5 separate regions of the Homo sapiens genome follow, and regions 1, 2, 3 and 4 are each linked to region 5. Evidence: promoter capture Hi-C in 16 types of primary human blood cells and fetal thymus (Javierre and others, 2016). All regions are on one chromosome and are shown on one strand. Each heading gives the region's core, a stretch centred on a gene start or on the middle of the fragment in contact. The rest is flanking DNA. Distances are from core to core; before and after follow the strand shown.

Region 1 (4,343 bases), core at 1,168-3,667, 690 kb before region 5:
GGCTTTGAATAACCAAATCACCCTGACCTGGCAGTGAGTCCCCTCTCTCCCCACCCACTCTTATCCTAAAGAATATTTGAATAGCCAAAGCAGCCCAGCCTGGCTCCCACCTCTCACCCCTAATCTCCAACATCCTTCTCTATCCTGTCTAGAGATTTCTAACCATCTCTTTATTCCTGAGCAAAATTAAGAACAAAAAAAAAAAAAAAATGAAATAAACGAAAAACAAACTAAACCTTCAGAATCATCCATGGAGACTTTGGCAAATGGTTCCTCTGCATAGAAATGAGGATGAAAGGCAGGAAATGTCAGGTCTTGGCAGCTTCACGTTCAAACCCTAGAGAAGGTTCCTGCTGACTGTGTAGCTCTGGGTAGACTGCTTGACCTCTCTGTGCCTCAGTTTTAGCCTTTTTAAAATGGGAGTGTTCAGAAATGCCCCAGCAAAGCACCTGGGGTGACGGCCAGCACCTAGGAGGTGTCCTTGATTGCTGTTTATGCTTGTGGGTGGTCAGTGTCAGAGAGGTGCTTGGGCCCAAAACCTTGGAGGAATCCTTGCGTGGACTCTCTCACGACCACTTCCAACGCATCTCACCCTTTCACCGGCTCCTCCTAGGATCTCATACTTGAACTATTCTAATCCTGCTCTCCCCACTTCTTCCCTGACCTGCTAGGGTCAATTCTCAGATGCAGAGCCAGAAGGATCCTTTTAGAACATGAATCAAATCATGTCACTCCTCTGCTCAAAATCCCTTAGTCCCTCCCTGAGCCCTCACTCTGTACCATTCCCTCATTCTGCCTCCCAAATCCCCAGAAACACATTGCCTGCCCCCAAAATAGGACTTAGAGTGAAGGCGCTCCCCAGGCCCTGGAGCTGAACCACCAGGGACCCCCTTGCCAGCTAGGCTGCAAGAAGTCACTTAGATCCTCTGGGCTCATTTCCAGTCCCATAAAAGAAGGTAACAGTATCCACCATCTAAATGTTTTTGTAAGGCTTAAACAAGATAATGTATCTCAGGCCCTTAAAACAATGATACAAAGTCAGCACTCCTTAGATTAAGCTATTGTTAAAATTACCATTATTTGTTCTGTTTCTTATCTCCTCCTTTCCCTCCAAGTCCCTGGAGGTGCCTGGAGTTGTTACTCTGTAGCTCTCAAGGTTACAGAGTAGCACTAGAGAGACCCTCCCAGGATCCAAAGAAGGAGGAGTGAGAGGCTGGTGTTCAGCCAGGGCTGTCTGTGCTTCCAGCCGGGCTCAGCCTTCTGCCAAGCTGCTCTAAATCTGTGGCTCGGTTCCCTCATCTGTAAAATGGAGGTTAAATGCCCACAAGGGGCAGCTGGGAAGACAAAAAGCTACAATGTATGCACAGCCTGCAGCATTTACCAGGGTCTCAGTTAGCATTAATCAGCCATTGGGGAAGGCATTAATCAAATGTCAACTCTATGCCAGGCACTGAGGTGGGGACTAGGATGCAAATGAGGGGAATGGGGAGGGGCCCAGGATTTGCCCTTTGCCCCCACCTCCCTCTACTGCACACCCATACCAAAGGGACCTCCTCGGTCAGCCATGCCAGCAGCAGGAGATAATTACACCTGCTCTCTGCCCATGGGGAAACAGACTAATCAACTGAGAATTCTAATGTAGTTACAAGTGCAGCAGCAGAAGCATGCACTGGGGGCACGGCGGGCAGAGAGCAGCAAGAAGGAATCCTAAATTTAATCTGGAGTGTGGCTAGGCACTTAAAGGGCTCAGAAAAAGCTTTCAGGGGAAAAAAGCAGGCATCTGAACTCAATCTTTCAAAAAAGATGAAGCAGGAGGAACTGGCTTTAAGTTTAAGCAAAGGCTAGGAGGCAGAACAGAGTATGCTAAAAAAAAACCCTGCTGAGAGTTAATGTGCATCTTACCTTATCAGGAGAAACCCAAAATGACCTCCTGATCATTAGCCAGGACAAAGGGATGAACAAGGTGCCCCCATGGTCCATTTCATCCTTGTTAAGCAGCCATTTATTGGGCCCTTCCCCAGGTGCCAAGCACCTGTTGTGTCTGGTTCGTCTCATTTATCTCAATGGGAAATACGGCAGCGGAAAACTGAAATCCCAAGAGGTCACATTACTTGATCAAAGTCATGTAGACCAGCAGCAGCACAAAGATCAAAACCCTCACCTGAGTCCCAAGCCCCTAGTCCAGAATCCTGTGGCAGCATCTGGCCAGATATTAACTGATTTGCCAGTACTTGCCACTCTCAAAAGAGGTTAAGGGACTTATCCGAGGTCACACAGATAGAAAGTAGCAAAACGAGTTAATGGGTGCAGCACACCAACATGGCACGTGTATATATATGTAACAAACCTGCACGTTGTGCACATGTACCCTAAAACTTAAAGCATAATAATAATATAATAATAAAATTTTAAAAAAGTAGCTGAAACTGGATTTGACCCAGCTGCCAACCACAGAGCTCTTCACTATGTTGACTGTTCCCAGCCATGCATCCTGGAGTTCCCCACTCCCAGGTCTCTAGGCCATAGTCCACTGGAACATAAGTAGGAAACACAAGCCCCATTATAACACCTTCAATTAGACAGAAACCAGGACAAGGGACCAGGCTCCTCAGTTCTTTCCAGCCCTCACTCTGGGAGGGCCTTGGACTTAACCTTCCCCAGGGTCCCAGTTACTTCCAGCTTCGAAGCCCAGTGGATCAACTCAGCCATAAACACCAGACTTCCATGCTGCGTCTCACCAATTGCTTTGTAATAGCTGCTCACAGGTTGCCCTAAAGGAGCAGGGGTGGAATTTACACTCTCACCTGCAGTGGCTGACACCGTTCCTTTGAAAACACTGTATCCCCTCTGATGCTGCAGGGTGGGTGTAAGGTGCAGCAGTAATGTCCATTCAACTGTTGGAGGGGCCCTTACCACTCAAGTATTTGCCTGTGCCCCATTTTAACAGAATCGTTTTGTGGGATTTTGGATGAAATCCTGTACTGGCTTAACATGCACAGAGCACTGAAGAGAAAAACTTCCTTGATTTCTGGTTTGGGGTTCTTGTATCTCACGAAATGCCCTTCTAAATAAGCTTGTGAGATACAAGAACATGAATGAGCTTATGAGATGCAATTGGAAACAGATCTTCACGGCCAAAAGATCCCTGGAGTCCACCATTCAAATCCTGCCAGCACCCAGCTCAGGTCTCCAGCGTTCCACGCTTTATCAACTATGGCAGGGAGGTCTCCAAGACCTTGAGCCCAGGAGAGAGCACCAGCCACCACAGCAACTTCCATTTTGCTTCTGCTTTTTTTGGTTTTTTCAAAAAAAGAAAAAAAAAAGCCTTGAAATCCCTTTTTTGTTCCTGTTTCCCATTCTTAATGGGTAATTCTATAAAATGACTTATTTTGTAAATACAAATATGGCTGAGTTTGAATAACTGATTTTTGCCATTTTTACATTTCATGTCCTTCTAAAGGTTTTTCTTGTATCTCATAAGCTCATTCATGTTCTTGTATCTCATAAGCTTATTTAGAAAGGCATAAAATGGGCCAGGCACGGTGGCTTATGACTGTAATTCCAGCACTTTGGGAGGCCGAGGTGGGCGGATCATGAGGTCAGGAGATCAAGACCATCCTGGCTAACACGATGAAACCCCGTCTCTACTAAAAAAAAATACAAAACAATTAGCCGGGTGTGGTGGCACATGCCTGTAATCCCAGCTACTCGTGAGGCTGAGGCAGGAGAAAGGCGTGAACCCGGGAGGCGGAGCTTGCAGTGAGCCGAGATCGCGCCACTGCACTCCAGCCTGGGCGACAGAGCAAGACTCCGTCTCGGGGGCGGGCGGGGGGGGGGGGGGAAAGGACATGAAATGAGATGCGAGGACCCAAAACCAGAAATCAAGGAAGTTTTTGTCTCTTCAGTGCTCTGTGCATGGTAAGCCAGTACAGGATTTCATCCAAAAATCCCACAAGACAATTGTGTTAAAATGGAGCACAGGCAAATACTTGAGTGGTAAGGGCCCCTCCAACAGTTCAAGGGACATTACTGCTGCACCTTACACCCACCCTGCAGCATTAGAGGGAATACACTATTTTCAAAGGAATGGTGTCAGCCACTGCAAGTGAGAGTGTAAATTCCACCCCTGCTCCTTTAGGGCAACCTGTGAGCAGCTACTAAAAAGCAAAACACGCATATGCTTCGATCCTGCAATTGTACATGTAAAGAAAGACATGCACAAAGATGCAATATGTACGACAGAAAATCACGGAAGCAATAGTTGCAATAGAAATACAAAAAAAGAAAAAAAAACAGAAAACAACTGCTCATCAATGTGGGGGGCCTCCTGGATAAATAATGGT
Region 2 (4,328 bases), core at 45-2,544, 790 kb before region 5:
TTCTGCAAGACAAGAGGTTTTTTAAGTAAATGAACTTATTTTTGCTGCAACCCTAAAACTACTCTAAAATATAAACTCTATTTAAAAAAAAACAAATGAAGTAAAAGAAAAAAGTAAATGGAACTCCAATGATATAAACAAAAATTTGAGATTTATATGTGAAAAGACATGCATACATGTACACACACACACACACACAGATCCATACAATTGACTCTGATCCCCACAATTCTCAGAGGTAGATGCTCTCAATCCCACTTAAAGAGGGGGAAACTGGGGCACAAAAAGGGTAAACCACCTGTCGGTGGCTGTGCAGCTGGTAAGATGATTTCAAGTTGATCTCACTCTCACAGAGTTTCTTGTCCTCAGCACTGTAGGTACTTGGTGCTGAATACTTCTTTGACTTTTTTTTTTTTGGTGGGGTGGGGGTGTTTTTGTTTTTTGTTTTCTGAGACGGAGTCTTGCTCTGTTGCCCAGGCTGCAGTCCAGTGGCGCAATCTCGGCTCACTGCAACCTCTACCTCCCAGGTTCAAGCCATTCTCCTGCCTCAGCCTCCCAGGTAGCTGGGATTACAGGCACCCACCACAATGCCTGCCTAATTTTTGTATTTTTAGTAGAGATGGGGTTTCACCATGTTGGCCAGGTAGGTCTCGAACTCCTGGCTTCAAGTGATCCGCCCGCCTCGGCCTCCCAAAGTGCTGGGATTATAGGCGTGAGCCACCCTACCCGGCCCTGAATACTTCTTCGCTGGGGGGTAGGGGGGGCTGCCCTGTGCAATGTAGGATATTTAGGAACATCCCTGGTGTTGACCTGCTAGATGCCGGCAGCAGCCTCCCGCTGTGACACGCACCCATGTCGTCTCTGGACACTGCCCAGTGTCCTCTGGGGGCATCGTCACAGCAGTGGAAAACCAAGGCGCAACACAACCCCCCCTTGAGTCTATAGCTGGGCTCAGAGCCCACAGGCAAACCCTGTCCAGGGAGACTGTCCCAGGCATCACCTGTTTAAGGAAAGCTGTGCTAGTTTATCTCCCAGGGGACCTGGCAGGCTTGATGAATCTGATCCCATCCTCCCATCAGTCAAGGAAGGCTTCCCAGGCAGTGACACCTGAGATGATGGCCAGAAAAGGTGCACCCAGCCAGGTGAGGGCAGCCCCATCCTCAGGCCCTCACCCCTCCTGCCCTGCCATCTTCTCAGTCTTCTCATCCTCAATGTGTGCCTTCAAAAGAGGCCCGACATGAGGCTCTTCTCATCCAGAGTTTCAGTGGCATCAGACAGCAATCTGAAGTCTCTGGCATCTGGCAGACTGCAATCGTTCCATGAAGACAGGTGGCCAGGTGAGCACAGGTGGCCAGGTGAGCACAGGTGACCAGGTGAGCACAGGCGGCAGAAGGGTGAGACTAGTCCCCAGCAGCATCCCGCCAGCTCCCTCAGGCACCCACACACCTTGTGCTCTCACCTGCTGTTCATGTATGAGAAACCTCTGGAAGTCATGCAGGTAAACAGCAGAGGCATCCGGCCTGTCAGTGTTCCTATCCTCGGGGAAAGGGGGTGCAGTTAGAGACAGACACATTCAACAGAGGAGTCGAGAGGAGATGCCAGCCAATGGGGCAGCCTGCCACCCAGAACGCCCCACTTAGTCTGGCACTGTGTTAGGTACCAGGTTGGCCAACAGGAAGACACAGGTGAGTGACACAATGTCCCTCACCTACAAGGATTCAGAGGGACCCTGACATCGGAATCTCAAGGGGCAGGCCCTGGTGTCTACATTTAGCTGCTCCAAAATAGCTCTGGTGCACCCCAGAGTCTGAGGAGCCCCTCCAGGAGTGTGGCCATGGGGAAGACAGGTGAACCAGGCATATGGGATACAGTGTAGCAAGAGATGAGGGTGGGAAGGGAGGGGAAGAGTGGGAATGGCTGAGAAGGCCCCAAACCCAGACCTGGAGGACCAGAGGGGCTTTCCTGAGGAAAAGGCACCTACTTGAGCTCCAGAGAGTGAGGTGGGATGAGCCAGAACGAGGTGGGGTGAGCCAGAATGAGGTGGGGTGAGCAAGAATGAGGTGGGGTGAGCAAGAAGGAGGTGCAGAGAGTACCTGGCAAGGAAACCAGAGAAGCAGCGGCCTCGAGGAAAAAAGAGAAGGGAGGGGAGGAAAGAAAGAGGAGTAGGAGCGAGGGAACGCAGGCCAGAGGGAGGGATTGCAGAGCAAAAGGTGTGGGGAACACAGGGATGTGAGTGTGCCTATCCAATACCCAGACAGGGCTCGACACACCACCCGCCCGTAGAGGGAGAGCTGGTGTTGGAGAAAGGACAGGAGCCAGACCCAAGGGCCTCCTCAGAAGCCACGATCCAGAGTTCCCTGGGTCATTGAGTGCTCTGGAGTGGGAGCCACATGAGGCCCCACCAGACTCCAGGCCATCAGGGCAAAATTAACTGCAGTGTGAAAGACACTTCCCTGGACCAAGCAGAGGTTAGGTATCAGGTAGGGAACACTAGGGAACACTACACTCCGAATAAAGGCAGGACTCCCGCCTTGGCCAGCAGGCCACCAGAAAAACAGGGCCTCACTGGGCCAGCACGAGCCACCCCCGGGTTGGATGGGGAGTACATTCTGCTACACGGGGCTTCCCAGGGTAATGGGTATGTTTCCCTGAGCACTTGCAGGAGCCTGGGGAAAAGAGGTCTATTTCAAATAGTGTAAGAGATGAAACATGCCCTGAGCTTTCTCCCTTTACTAAACACTCAGGGTCCAGGAGTCTGTTGTCTTTGATTATGAGTACAATTCTAACCTTTCCCCACCAGCCTCACAGTCTAACACTAAGTTTTCATTAAAATACTACATAGAAATTATGGCTGGGCACAGTGGCACATGCCTGTAATCCCAGCACTTCGGGAGGCCAAGGCAGGTGGATCACCTGAGGTCATGAGTTCAACACCAGACTGGCCAACATGGTGAAACCCCATCTCTACCAAAAATACAAAAAAAAAAAAAACAATAGCTGGACATGATGGATGCCTGTAGTCCCAGCTATTCGGAGGATGAGGCAGGAGAATCGCTTGAACCTGGAAGGTGGAGGTTGCAGTGAGCCAAGATTGCGCCAGTGCACTCCAGCCTAGGCGACAAAGGGAGGCTCCGTCTCGAATATACATACTATATAAAAATTAGATTCATTTTATTTATACTTTGGAGTCTTGGAGTTTCTGATTTCAAAAGTGACAGAGGGAAAAGTTGCTCACCGATAAAGACTGGATCAACGTACCCCAGACCATTAACTCCAGGGCCAACATTTCTCCCAGTCAGATAGGCTGGGGAAACACATAACATCTCAGAAATTCCCCACTTGGGAAATCATGAGGCACAGTGAATGTCCTGATAAGTCCTGCAACTCTGACTTTTTAGTAATAATATTACTATCTATCAGCCCCTCATGGGTGCCAAGCATCATGTGAAGCAGTTTATACACCTGAACTCATTTTAATTCAGTTAAACCTGTTTAACAAGGAATTTTTCACTTATTTGATCATTAACATTAGTTTTTGTAATTAAAAAAAAAAACTATTAACCTGTCACATCTCATGAGGCACATTCGGGGAAAGGAGGCCCTGAGGCACACAGGCTTTTCTACAGAACTTTCTGGACCATCCTCCCAGTGCTCCACACCTTCCTGTTGCTACTGCTCATCTCTATCCACGCCACAGGCATGGGATGGCCAATTCCCCAGCAGGGGCCCCCTGCCCCTTTGGAGGTCAGCGCCTGCACACACAGGCATCCCCTCCTGGAGGCCGGCTGGGCACCAGGCACCGAGGTCCGGCACAGCCGCCCCGAACGACACACAAGAGCTGCCTCACCCCAGGATGAACACGGACGAATCCTTTTTGAATTCATCGAGAATCTGAAATGGAAAGCACACACAAAAAAAAGAACCTTAGACAAGTCACTTAATGCAAAAACGGAAAGATTTTTGTTGTTAAAAAAGCATCATTTTGTCAGATGCAACAAGATCATTAAAAATATCATTTTAGTTGATGTTAGTTGTAAATATTCAAATATAACAGAAACTTAAGAAGCAAAAGGTAGAAGCCCTCCTCATTCCCTCCACAGTCGTATTCCCAAGAAGCAGTCACCCTTAAGCATTTCATAGGTTTCCTTCTAGAATTTGTTTTAGGGATATTCATTTAATGGTATCATATCATATTATAACATTTACGTACATCTCACAATTTTTTGCTGTGTTTCAAGCTTTACATATTATTCTGCAACCTCAAATAACCCTGTTTCCTTTCTTTGAAAAACCATTGTATTCCACAATAAGCATGTCACTTGATTTTT
Region 3 (4,567 bases), core at 2,045-4,544, 650 kb before region 5:
CCCTGGCTGTTGGCCCAGGGATGGGGGAGTCTCACCTCCGCAGCCACTTCCCACTCCCCAGGCCCTCTCCCAGCCCTCCAGCTGCTTCTCCTGGAGATAAAACGGCTGAGCTCCCTTCATATTTTCCCCATCCTACAGTCATGGCTGTGGCATCTGCATTAGTGGCTGTGGCATCTGTCACCTCCTGGTTCCCTCATCCCCTCCCAAAAGTCAGCACTGCTGGGTGCAGTGGCTCATGCCTGTAATCCCAGTACTTTGGGAGGCCAAGGCAGGGAGATCACTTGAGGCCAGGTCAGCCTGGCCAACATGGTGAAACCCTTCTCTACTGAAAATACAAAAATTAGCTGGGCGTGGTAATGTGCGCCTATAATCCCAGCTACTAATGAGGCTGATACAGGAGAATCGCTTGAACCTGGGAGGTGGAGGCATCAGTGAGCCAAGATACAACTACTGCACTCCAGCTTGGGCAACAGAGTGAGACTCCATCTCAAAAAAAAAAAAAATTAAATTAAATGGTCAAAATGGTAAATTTTATATTATACATATTTAACCAGAATACAAAAAAAAAAAAAAAAAAAAAAAACCTGCCAGGACTTTAACACAATGCTGAACTTGGCATAACCCACCAATGACCAATGTGGATGTTTTACCAAATTGGCTCAATGGGGCTGTGAGTGGGAAAACTAAAGCTCGTGCTGTGTGGACCTGAGCTTGGTTGCACCTGCCACAGGTGGGAAGCCAGGCTGAGGTGGCGGGGAGAGGCAGGGCCGAGGGGGTGTGGAAGGGTGCGAGGCCGGGAGCAGAGCTGAGCTGCCACTGGCCATCCTCAGCAGAAGCTGGTGGGGCACCCTGGACAGCTCAGACTGAGCCACAGGCACTAGCTAATAGTAGCTCATACCATTATTAAGCACTTGCTGTGTACCAGGAATTTCTACAGACCTTCGAAGTACCGTGGTTGGTCTCCACTACACAGATGAGGAAACTGAGGCCCAAAGGAGAAAAGCAGCCTGCCCAAAGCCCCGAGTTGACAGGTGGCAGTGCAAGGCCTGGAGCCACGTCTTTCATAGCTGTCCTCTCCCTGCTGGCAGCTCTGCCCCCAACAGCCACTCACCGGGGAGGTGCCCAGTGCTAGGCTGGAGCTTCCAGCACTGGCCCTCACTTCCCTGGGCACCCTGAGGGCCCTGGCCGTGCAAGGAGTGGGCCTCGTCTACAGTCACGTCCTTCATGGAAGTTGCTGGAAGCAGATGCAGCCCAGGCCAAGCCTCAGGGTCAGTGATTCTGTTCTGGCTGGGGAGGGGGAGCTAAGGGGACCACCTCTCCCAGCCCCTCCTTTGGGGGCTCACAGAGACCTCAGATGGAAGCTGAAGTGGACTCTTGCTCTCCTGCCCTCAGCCGAGGGGCTGAGCCACTCCGGGAGGGTTTTTGGAGGCCTGCTCCGCCCCCAGCTGCTATTAGTGCTGCCACGGCCAGCCGCCTCCACCCCAGGAAAAAGAGGAAGTGGTCAGAAGCCAGCAAGAGAGAGCCTTAAAAGAGGACGTGTCCCAACCCTCACAGTCCCCTCCCTGTCAGGCAGAGTGGAGGAGCTGGCCGGGTACTTCTCAGAGCTGGCCGGGTGCTTCTTGGAACCTTCCACCTGGGGAAGCTGGAACCTGCTTTCACCCCACAATGATATTCTAAAAACACCCTAGAATTGTGAGGGCCTCCAGGCTTCCAGCATCAGGGAACTCTGAGACGCAGTGTTGGGGAACAGTGGGAGCTCCCAGCTCAGCACCCAGCACTCAGCAGGCTCATAGTTCATACGTGATAGACGGGGCCTACATCACAGTGAAGAGTTGCAGGTTCAAATCCTAGCTCTTTTATATATATTATATACATATATTATATTTTTTTTATATTTATTTTTTGAGATAGACTCTTGCTTTGTTGGCCAGGCTGGAGTGCAGTGGCACAATCTCGGCTCACTGCAACCTCCGCCTCCCAGGCTCAAGCAAATCTCCCACCTCAGCCTCCCGAGTAGCTAAGATTACAGACGCCTGCCACCATATCCACCTAATGTTTATATTTTTAGTAGAGACAAGATTTCACCATGGTGGCCAGGCTGCTCTTGAACTCCTGACCTCAGGTGATCCACCCACCGTGACTTCCCAAAGGGCTAGGATTACAGCTGTGAGCCACTGCACCCGGACTCTTTTACATATTTATAGGGTAAAAAGTGACATTATGATCTATGAATACAACGTGGAATAATTAAAGCTAGTTAACATATCCATCACCTCAAACACTTAACTTTTTTGTGATGAGACTGTTTGAATTTACTCTCTTAGCAATTTTGAAATGTACCATACTCTATTATTAATGACATTTACCACGCCATACAATAGGTCTCAAAAAAAACCCATATTCCTCCTATCTGAGATTTTGTATGCTTTGACCACCATCTCCCCATTTCCCGTCCTCGAGCCTCTGTAACCACCATTCTACTCTCTGCTTCTATGAGTTTGACTGTTTTAGATTCCACATATAAGTGAGAACATGTGACACTTGTCTTTCTGGGCCTGGCTTATTTCACTTAGCATAATGTTCTCCATCTTTATCCATGTTGTCGCAAATGACAGAATTTCCCTGGCCATCAATCTCTAGTTCCAGGCTGGAGGCAGTGGCTCATGCCTGTAATCCCAGCACTATGGGAGGCTGAGGCAGGTGGATCACCTGAGGTCAGGAGTTTGAGACCAGCCTGGCCAACATAGTGAAACCCCATCTCTACTAAACATACTAAAATTAGCTGGGCATGGTGGAATGCACCTGTAATACCAGCTACTGAGGAGGCTGAGGCAGGAGAATCACTTAAACCCTGGAGGTGGAGGTTGTAGTGAGCCAAGATTGCACTACCGTACTCCAGTCTGGACAACAAGAGTGAAACTCTGTTTGAAAAAAAAAAAAAAAAAAAAAAAAAAGCTGGGTGCGGTGGCTCACGCCTGTAATCCCAGCACTTTGGGAGGCTGAGGTGGGTGGATCTTGAGGTCAGGAGATCGAGACCAACCTGGCTAACATGTTGAAACCCCATCTCTACTAAAAATACAAAAAATTAGCCAGGTGCAGGTGTGGTGGCAGGCGCCTGTAGTCCCAAGTACTCGGGAGGCTGAGGCAGGAGAATGGCATGAACCCGGGAGGCGGAGCTTGCAGTGAGCCGAGATCGCGCCACTGCACTCCAGCCTGGGCAAAAGAGGGAGACTCTATCTCAAAAAAAAAAAAAAAAAAAAAATCTCCAGTCCCCATTCTGCTTTTTAAATGCTGAATAGTAGTCCATTGTAAATATGTGGCACGTTTTCTTTATGCATTAATCTGTTGATGGACATTTAGGTTGATTCCATAACTCAGCTATTATGAATGATGCTGCAATGAACCTGACAGTGCAGACATCTTTCAACAAACTGATTTCAAATCTTTTGGGTAAATATCCAGAAGTGGGATTGCTGTGCTGGATTTTTTTTTTTTTTTTTTTTGAGACAGAGTCTCACTCTATCACCACCCAGGCTGGAGTGCAGTGGTGAGATCTCAGCTCACTGCAATCTTCCCCTCCCAGGTTCAAGGGATTCTTCTGTCTCAACCTCCTGAGTAGCTAGGATTACGGATGCCCGCCACCATGTCCAGCTAATTTTTGTTGTTGTTGTTGTATTTTTAGCAGAGATGGAATTTCACCATGTTGGCCAAGCTGGTCTTGAACTCCTGGCCTGAGGTGATCTGTCCGCCTTGTTCTCCCAAAGTGCTGGGATTACAGGCATGAGCCACCACACCCAGCCAAATTGCTGGATCTTATACATTGTTTTCTATGTTTGCTAAAACATAGATACCTCTATGTGTTTTTAACTTTTTTTTTTTCACAATGGGATCATATTATTCTACTGTTGTTTTTACTTAACGGTATATTGCAGATCTCTTTCTAGGTCAGCAAATCCAGCCAGCTTTCTTTTTCTCAACCATGGTACCTTGCATTCCGCCGCGTAGATGGATTACACTTAAGTGAAGCAGCTGTCCATTGAGGGACATCTCAGCTCTTTCTAGGTTTGTGTCTTTGCTTCATAAGCAATGCATCTTTGGACATGTATCCTTGAACAGTGGGGTGAGTATATCCACAGGGAAAGATAAATCATTTGCTGTGTAAATGCTGGACACATACCAAAACAATTTTGACAGAAACACCAAATTGCCCTCCAAATACTTCATTGCTTGAATTGGTAACACTCATCTATTTCTTTAAATTTATTTAATGAAGGCCAGGCACAGTGGCTCACGCCTGTCATTCCAGCAGTTTGGGAGGCCAAGGCGGATGGATCACTTGAGGTCAGGAGTTTGAGACAAGCCTGGCCAACATGGTAAAACCTCGTCTCTACTAAAAATACACATAATTAGCTGGGCTTGGTGGCAGGCGCCTGTAATCCCAGCTACTCAGGAGGCTGAGGCAGGAGAATTGCTTGAACCCAGGAGGCAGAGGTTGCCAGGAGCCAAGATCACACCACTGCACTCCGGCCTGGATGACAGAGTGAATGAGACTCCATCGCAAAAAAAT
Region 4 (4,581 bases), core at 2,067-4,566, 640 kb before region 5:
CACAGCAGCACCACCAGGACACTTTAAAAACCCACCGCTGTGGATTTTTAAAGTCTATCCACAGGTGCATGGATAAAGAAATGTGGTCTAGACAGACAACAGAATATTAGTCAACTGTAAAAGAAATAAAACTCTGACACATGGCCAGGCGCGGTGGCTCATGCCTGTAATCCCAGCACTTTGGGAGGCCAACGCAGGCGGATCACCTGAAGTCAGGAGTTGGAGACCAACCTGGCCAACATGGTGAAACCCCGTCTCTAGTAAAAATACAAAAATTAGCTGGGCGTCGTGGTGCACACCTGTAATTCCAGCTACTCAGGAGGCTGAGGCAGGAGAATCACTTGAACCTGGGAGGCGGAGGTTGTAGTGAGCCGAGATTGCGCCACTGCACTCCCGTGGGCAACAGAGCAAGACTCCATCTCAAAGAAACAAACAAACAAAAAACAAAACAAAAAAAATTGACACACGGTACAATATGGATAAACCTCAGAGATATTGTGCTAAGTGAAGTAAACCAGACACAGAAGGACAAATACTGTAGTTTCTGCAAACAGGAGACTCCTAGAGTAGTCGGATTCATAGAGGCAGAAAGCAGGACGGTGGCTGCCAGGGGCTGCAGGAGGAGGCGGAAATGGGGAACTTGTGTTTAATGGGCCCAGAGTTTCCCTTTGGGAAGATGAAAGTGTACTGAGGGGGATGGTTGCATGGCAGTGTGAATGTACAGAGTGCCACTGAATGGGACACTCAAAAATTGTTAAAATGGGCCAGGCACAGTGGCTCACACCTATGATCCCAGCACTTTGGGAGACTGAGGTGGATGGATCACCTGAGCTCAGGAGTTCCAGACCAGCCTGCGCAACATGGAGAAACCTCATCTCTACCAAAAATACAAAAAAATTAGCCAGGTGTGGTGGCGGGCACCTGTGGTCCCAGCTACTCGGGAGGGTGAAGTAGGAGGATTGCTTAAGCCTGGGAGGCGAAGGTTGCAGTGAGCTGAAATTGCGCCACTGCACTCCAACCTGGGTGACAGAGTGAGACCCTGTCTTGAAAATAAATAAATAAATAAATAGTTAAAATGGTAACTTTTATGTTATATTTTTATTATAATTTTAAAAAGCAGAACATATATGCTGGGTTTCACAATTAAAGCTTAAAATCATTCCACAAAACAAAAGCACAGATGCCAATGTCCAAGTCACTCCCCAGACTAATAAGAATGTCAAGGTTGATTCCCCAAAACTGATATTTTCTTAGTGTCCCAGAGGAATTTAACATGAAGTTACTGTTGAGAATCCCTGGTTTAAAATCATTCTAAGATTTCAGCACCCTGGAAGAATTATTGCTGCTCTAGCCATTTATCTCTTGTGATGGTATTAAACTGTGCCCACACATTCTTTCATACTCCTCCTTCAAGAGGTAGAAACTAATCGGGCATATTGGCTCACGGCTGTAATCCAACACTTTGGGAGGTCGAGGCAGGAGGATCCCTTGAGCTCAAGAGTTTGAGACCTCTCTCTCTCTCTCTACTAAAAATACCAAAAATTAGTTGGACATGGTGGTATGTTCCTGTAGTCCCAGCTTCTTGGGAGGCTGAGGCAGCAGGATCGCTTAAGCCCAGGAGGTCAAGGCTGCAGTGAGCTATGACTGCGCCACCGCACTTCAGCCTGAGCAACAGAGTGAGACCCTGTCTTAAAAAAAAAACACAAAGAGGTGGAAATTACTTCCTTTCCCCTTGAGTTTGGGTGGAACTTTGTGACTTGCTTCTAACAGGTAAAAAAAAAAAAAAGGAAAAACCAGAAGTAATGGTGTAAGACCCGGAGACAAGGTCATCAGAGGCACTTTGGCTTCCATCTTGGTCTTTCTCTTTCTCTCTAGAATCACTGACCTTGAATACAGCCAGCTGCCATCATGAGGGCACTCACATAGCCTACAGAGAGGCCAGTGTAATGAGAAACCAAGGCCTCCTGTTAATAGCTGTGCAAGGGATCCATCATTAAGTGGATCCTCCAGCCCCAGGCGAGCTGTCATATGAAACTGCAGACCAAGCCACCATCCTGCAGCAGCCGTGTGAGAGGCCCTGAGCCAGAACAACCCAGCTAGGCAATCCCAAATTCCTGAGCCAGAGACATAGTGAGATAATAAATATTTTCTGCTTTAAGCCACAAATTTTAAAATGATTTGTTAAATAGCAATAAACAACTAATATATATCCATCCATGAGTCACTCAACAATCCACACATCCATCTATACACCCACCCATTTATTCACCCATCCACTCACCCACCAATCTATTCATCCATCATCCATCTATCTATCCATTGATCCAGCTACCCATCCACCCAGTCATCCACTCATTCATTTACCCACCCATCCACCCACTCACTCATCATCTACTCAGTACAGAACCCAGGGCCTAGCACACAGTAGACGCATGTAAATATTTGTCAAATGAATAACCAAACATTTTGTAAATGTCTGCTCTCTATTTCTTGCCAAGACAGGCCAAGGGAGGCTCAAATGTGGCCCCTGGACCACTGTGAGATGGAGCCAGTGCCTGGTTCTGCCAGAGCAGCTCTGGCCTCTGGATGCTATTGGCCACCTCCTGGGCCCATTTGGCATCATCTCCTTCTGCTAAGAACCACCCACCCTTCTCTCACCCACCCACGCGCAAGCTGCATGGGCCTGCCTGGTAGGAAAAACCTGGCTCTGTCCCTCCCTCTCCCCCACCCCACCACACACACGCCCGCTGGGGCTGGTCATCCTGGAAGGCTGGGAACAGAGAAGCTTCTTGCCTCCCCAAGAGAGTTTGTGACAAGAAGATTTGGGTTCTTCTAGGTTCAAGAACCTGGGCCAACTGGGGCAGCCATAGGGAGGTTTTTGGCAAAGGCCTGGCTGCCTCTTCCCAGAGAATGTCATGTAGGCCTGGGCTCTGCCCGACCCACCCCAAATACCCACTTCCAGCCTATTCCCTTCTCATCCCTCATGGTTCACCTTACAGGCTCAGGCCTCAGTTTTCTCATCTATAAAATGAGAATGATGAGACTATTTTGGAGATGAGATGACACGTGCACAGGGGAACCCTCAGCAAGGGGCCCGGTGAGCAGCAAGTGCTGCAGTGCATGTGGAGCTACTGTGGACCGAGCGGATGGACAGTGAAACCAATGACACCCAGAGGCCCGCAAGCAGCCGCTGACCCGGCCCTCCCCTCTCCTCCCCTGTGCCCACTCTGCCCTGGCTGCATCCCCTCCTCCTGCTCCTCACACTCTGTGCCCACTCCCACCTCTGGGCTTCTGCACTGGCTGTTCCCTCTGCCTAGAATACTCTTTCCCCAAATACCCACTCAGCTCCCTTCTCCCTTCCCTCAGGTTTTTGCTCAAATGTCACCTTCTCAGTGAGCCCCACCTGGATACCCCTCCTCAACTCTCACCAGTCCCCTGTTTGGATTAATTTTTCTCTACCGTATTTATCCTTTTAAGGTACTACATCTTTTCCATCTCTCTCTTTTTTTTTTTTTTTGAGATGGAGTCTCGCTCTGTCACCCAGACTGGAGTGCAATGGCACCATCTCAGCTCCCTGCAAACTCTGCCTCCCGGGTTCAAGCGATTCTTGTGCCTCAGCCTCCCGAGTAGCTAGGTCCCACCAAACCTGGCTAATTTTTGTATTTTTAGTAGAGATGGGGTTTCACCATGTTGGCCAGGTAGGTCTCCAACTCCTGACCTCAAGTGATCTACCGCCTCAGCCTCCCAAAGTGCTGGGATTACAGGCACCAGCCACCACGCCTGGCCCACTATATCTTTTCATTGTTGATTTTGTTATTGCCTGACTCCTCCCAGAACATAAGCTTTATAAGCATGGGAATTTTGGTCTTGCTTGTTCATTGCTAGATCCTCAGCATCTACCAGAGTGACTGGCACATAGTAGGTGTACAGTCAACGTCGATGAATGGAGGGTGAATGGATGAATGGATGGATGGTGAATGTATGTATGGATAGATGAATGAATGAGTGAATGGATAGATGGATGGGTGGCTGGATAGATGAATAGATGGATAGGTGGGTGGATGGATAGATGGATGGGTGGGTGGATGATGGTGAATGGATGGATAGATGGATGGGTAGATAGATAAATGAATGGGTGGGTGGATGGACGGATGGATGGATGGATGGATGGATGGATGGGTGAGTGGGTGGATGGGTAGGTGGAAGGGTGGATGGAGAGAGGATGGACAGATGGATGAATAAGTAGATGGCTGGATGGATGGAGAATAGATGGATAGAGGGTGGGTGGATGGATCATTGGGTAGATGGATGGTCAAAATAAGAGGAGACTGAGTGAGCCTTCTCTAGCAGTCTAGAAATCACCATCTAGGCATGAGTTCCCCATGTTCTAAAGGTAGAAAACTAAAAGACGACTTCAGGGCTTATTAAAAAGTGGTGCAAAATGTTCCACTCTCTCCATATGTCATCCCACCTCCAACAGAAGACTTGAGGTCCATGAGCAGGGAGAGAAAAAGAGGGAAATCTCCTTCCCAGGTTCCGGGTTCACTCCTGTCCTCCAGCCACCCCCAGCCCAAGGCAGGT
Region 5 (4,197 bases), core at 727-3,226:
GAGGTTAGGCATTCTTTTTATTTGTATTTTTTTCTGAAGCAGAGTCTCGCTCTGTCACCCAGGCTGGAGTGCAGTGGCGTGATCTCGACTCACTGCAACCTCTGCCTCCCAGGCTCAAGTGATTCTCGTGCCTCAGCCTCCTGAGTAGCTGGGATTACAGGCACCTGCCACCATGCCTGGCTAAACTTTGGATTTGTAGTAGAGACGGGGGTTTCTCCATGTTGGCCAGGTTGGTCTCGAACTCCTGACCTCAAGTGATTCACCTGCCTCACTTAGTCACAGGATGAGCTAGGGTTGGCACAAGATACAGGTCACAAAGTCCCTGCTGATAAAATAGGATGCGGTAAAGGAGCTGGCCAAAACTCACCAAAACCAAGATGGCGACCTCTGGTAGGTCTCACTGCTCATTATACGCTAATTATAATGCATTAGCATGTTAAAAAAAAAACAACTCCCACCAGCGTCATGACAGTTCACAAATGCAATGGCAACGTCCAGAGAAGTTACCCTATAGTCCAAAAAGCGGAGGAACCGTTAGTTCTAGGAAATCCCTGCCCCTTTTCTGGAGAACTCTTGAATGATCCACCCCTTGTTTAGCATACAATCAAGAAATAACTATAAGTACACTTAGTCGAGAAGCCATACTGCTGCTCTGTCTACGAAGAAGCCATTCTTTTTTTTCTTTACTTCTCTATTAAACGTGCTTTCACTTTATAGACTCTCCCCAAATTCTTTCTTGCATGAGGTCCAAAAACCCTCTCTTGGGGTCTGGATTGGGAGCCCTTTCTGTAACAGTACTAAAGGTGTGTGTGTAGCTTAAGGTGTTTTTCAGAACAGTATTTCTTTGCTGACTCATGGCCACTCCATAAAATCTGTGTTAAAGGTGAGGTTTTTCCCAGAACCTAATTTTTTTCTGACTTCTTGGATTGGGATGATGACTTCGGCTTTTCTCGGAAGGCCTTGGTCACACCGCTGGCCGATGAAACAAGGAATTGTGCACACTGGGTCTCAGCTCTCTGCGTTTTGAATATTTCTGCATTAGTGACTGGCTTGGGTCCAGTCTCCACCAAGAAGCCACTTATGACCCTTGGACAAGTCTTTATTCCTTTTTAAGTAAGCTTCTGGATTCTGCCGGTCCTGTTTGGGGTCCCTGGGGCTCTTTGAGACAGGAACGTTACAGAGCAGTTGAAGGAGAATAGAAACTTCCAGGCTGCAGTTCTGTCTAACAAAAGGAAACTGTTGAAATAGCTGCACAAGCTATGGGCTAAGACCCTGAAAAACCAGGGTGTGGGTCAACCTGGCTAAAACCAACTGGACCCAACGTGGTGTGGCTTTGACCTAGGCTTCACCTAGGACTCATTAACATACTAAGTCACACACCCACCGGCACCACAACAATTCCGGGAACACCCATATTTGGTGTAAAAATGGGTGGCACCACAGTTCTGACAAGTCTCCACCTTATTCCAGAAACCTTTGTGTATATTCCATTTCTCAAAGAAACCCATAAAGATGGAAACCCCAAGCCCCATTGTGTGGCCCTCTTTTGAGTCCGCCCTTTCTTCAGTGTGTACTTTGCAGTAAACCTCTGTACTTTCACGACTTTCCGACTTGTTCTTGAATTCCTTCGTGAGGTGGTGAAACCACCTTTGAAAACTTATGACAGAGGCAGTAAAAGAGATACACATGTGGAAAGGAACCCAGTCTGGGGCTAGGCCCCGCCCCCCTCCTGCGGGCAGCCCAATCATACCCAGGCCCGCCGCGCTAGTCTCCGCCTCTCGGTGCTGCCTCTTCCGGGCCTCAGGTTCTTCCCCATGCCCACGCCCCTCTTTCGCGTCGCCGTATCCGAGGTCGCGCCAGGCCCTGGAGTCCCCAGTCTCCGCGTGCTGGCCAATCAGACCCTGCCTCGCCCCCTCGCCTGGGAGTCTCCGCCCTCCACGCTCTGCCCAGTCAGGCTCTGTCCCGCCCCCGCGGCACCGCCTCCGCGCCTCCATCCAGCCGGCTCCCTCCGGCCGCGAACTGCCCCTCCCCGCCCCGCCTCCCGGCGCGGGTGGCCGAGGCGTAGCGCTGCGACCCCCGCACCCCTGCGAACATGGCGCTGCGAGTGGTGCGGAGCGTGCGGGCCCTGCTCTGCACCCTGCGCGCGGTCCCGTCACCCGCCGCGCCCTGCCCGCCGAGGCCCTGGCAGCTGGGGGTGGGCGCCGTCCGTACGCTGCGCACTGGACCCGCTCTGCTCTCGGGTAAGCGCGGCGGGCACGTGGGCGGCTGCTCCCTCCCCGCCTGGGCTGCTTGTCCCGGGCCCAGCGGGACACGGAGGACGCCGGGGCACCGCTCCTGAGCCACCGGGGCGGAGCGAGCGCGGACCCTGCCCCCTTCTTATTTCTGTTGGGATCCCTGGCTCTGCGGCCGCTTCTCCCCCTTAAGTAGCGGGAGGACCCGCGAGTAGCCTTTGCCCTAGGGATTGCATGCAGCCGGGAGGGGAGGCCTGCGGGACACCGAGGCGGGGGTGGCCCGGCGGGTCCGGCGGGCAGGTCGGCCGCTTGCTGCAGAAGCCAGGCACGTGTCGCTTAAGCGTCTCGGTGGCCTTAAGTTTATCTCCCATCTGCGTGCATCGTTGAGACCCCAAATGGGGAGGCCTTTAGTTTACTAAATGGACCGTTACTGAGAACTCCGAAGTAAAATTAAAACAGAAGCGCTTATTAAAATTAAAGCACCAGGCAGGGCGCGTTGGCTCATGCCGGAGGGCGGATCACGAGGTCAGGAGATCGAGACTATCCTGGCTAACACGGTGAAATCCCATCTCTACTAAAAGTACAAAAAATTAGCCAGGCGTGGCGGCATGCGCATGTAATCCCAGCTACTCGGGAGGCTGAGGCAGGAGAATCGCTTGAACCTGGGAGGCAGAGGTTGCAGTGAGCCGAGATCGCGCCACTGCACTCCAGCCTGGGCGACAGAGCAAAACTCCACCTCAAAAAAAAAAAAAAAAAAAAAAATTAAAGCGCCAGATCTAGATTTTTTTACTAGATAAAACAATCATAACTTTGAAGATTCAGCTATTTCCCCAAAACAAGTAAGATAAAGTCTTCTGGACTCAACAGAAGTTCTGCTAAAGTTTGTATTGGATCATTCATGTGTGTGCTTGCTGAAATGAGCCCTAACTCAAACGGACTTGAAATAACTGGGAAACCTGCCCATGAATGTTTCGGCCATTTGTGCTACTTCAGCACAATTATTGCAGGGGAAAAACAATTTTCTTTTTTTTTTTTTTTCTTTTTATTGAGACGGAGCCTCGCTCTGTCGCCCAGGCTGGAGTGCAGCGGCGTGATCTCGGCTCACTGCAAGCGCCACCTCCCAGATTCAAGCGATTCTCTTGCCTCAGCCTCCCGAGTAGCTGGGTTCACTGGCGCCCGTCACCACCTCCAGCTGAGTTTTGTATTTTTAGTAGAGACAGGGTTTCGCCACGTTAGGCTGGTCTCAAACTCCTGACCTCAAGTGATCCACCCGCCTCAGCCTCCCAAAGTGCTGAGATTACAGTCGTGCGTCACCGCGCCAGGCCAACAATTTTCTTTACGCCCAAATGTTTGATACACTGACTGCTCCTCTGCTTCGATTGCGTAGATCAGTGATGGCTCTTGTCTCATTAGCTCATTGTTTTAGAAACCTGTTTGGAGCTGGAATGGTTGATAAATTTATTCCAAAATTTGTAGCATAAAGATTTACTTATGCTGTCTTGCTAATAGTCTGTCCGCTCTGTTTCTGATAGGGATCCCTACATCACTAATTTGAATACAAAGGTAAAGCATTTCTCAGATAAGAATTTAGTTTCAAGTCTGTGGTTTTCGTTCCTTTTTTTTTTCTTCTTTTTTGAGATGGAGTCTCGCTCTGTCGCCCAGGCTGGCATCCAGTGGCAGGATCTTGGCTCACTGCAACCTTCGCTTCCCGGGTTCAAACACTTCTCCTGCCTCAGCCTGTGGAGTAGCTGGACGACAAGAGCACACCTCCATCTCAAAAAAAAAAGAGAAGAAAAATTGACTAATACTAATATAAAATATTTTATCTGACTAGTGACATTGAAAAAGGAAAATGCAAAATTTTCATAAATTGCTCACAACTCCTAATTTTCCGAGGCCAAAAACCACCTTTTTCAAGGCCCAGTTAGAAAGTAATTATTGTCCAGGCACGGTGGCTCATGCCTTT

Evidence for each region. Contacts are between HindIII fragments. The CHiCAGO score rates a contact against its expected background, and 5 or more counts as called.
Region 1: a fragment that was not itself captured here is called in contact with the fragment with the promoter of GCSH in region 5 in 1 of 17 cell types (fetal thymus); the score reaches 8.4 in fetal thymus.
Region 2: a fragment that was not itself captured here is called in contact with the fragment with the promoter of GCSH in region 5 in 1 of 17 cell types (neutrophils); the score reaches 5.2 in neutrophils.
Region 3: a fragment that was not itself captured here is called in contact with the fragment with the promoter of GCSH in region 5 in 5 of 17 cell types (naive CD4 T cells, naive CD8 T cells, non-activated CD4 T cells and 2 more); the score reaches 13.6 in naive CD4 T cells.
Region 4: a fragment that was not itself captured here is called in contact with the fragment with the promoter of GCSH in region 5 in 4 of 17 cell types (naive CD8 T cells, total CD4 T cells, non-activated CD4 T cells and 1 more); the score reaches 7.8 in naive CD8 T cells.

What each region holds. Positions count from the first base shown.
Region 1 is chr16:81,781,364-81,785,706 of GRCh38, reverse strand. All of the region lies in intron 1 of PLCG2 (phospholipase C gamma 2), which reads right to left. Among named protein-coding and RNA genes, the nearest start is that of PLCG2, 4.2 kb to the right of the region's middle. The HindIII fragment of the contact is 1,317 bases long and covers 1,759-3,075 here.
Region 2 is chr16:81,880,473-81,884,800 of GRCh38, reverse strand. It overlaps PLCG2 (phospholipase C gamma 2), which reads right to left. Exons shown (of 33, transcript NM_002661.5): 8 at 3,848-3,891; 9 at 1,460-1,532. Among named protein-coding and RNA genes, the nearest start is that of PLCG2, 100 kb to the right of the region's middle. The HindIII fragment of the contact is 5,892 bases long and covers 1-4,240 here.
Region 3 is chr16:81,749,359-81,753,925 of GRCh38, reverse strand. The region is part of intron 2 of LOC105369213 (a long non-coding RNA gene); the gene reads right to left. It also overlaps a transcript of PLCG2 not described here. Among named protein-coding and RNA genes, the nearest start is that of PLCG2, 28 kb to the left of the region's middle. RefSeq lists enhancers at 644-1,251, 1,252-1,860. The HindIII fragment of the contact is 7,152 bases long and covers 1-4,567 here.
Region 4 is chr16:81,733,057-81,737,637 of GRCh38, reverse strand. No RefSeq gene overlaps it. Among named protein-coding and RNA genes, the nearest start is that of PLCG2, 44 kb to the left of the region's middle. RefSeq lists an enhancer at 286-1,218. The HindIII fragment of the contact is 1,057 bases long and covers 2,788-3,844 here.
Region 5 is chr16:81,094,174-81,098,370 of GRCh38, reverse strand. GCSH (glycine cleavage system protein H) reads left to right here and starts at 1,976. Exons shown (of 5, transcript NM_004483.5): 1 at 1,976-2,240. The coding sequence starts at 2,093. RefSeq lists silencers at 1,640-1,739, 1,890-2,559. The HindIII fragment of the contact is 7,249 bases long and covers 1,121-4,197 here.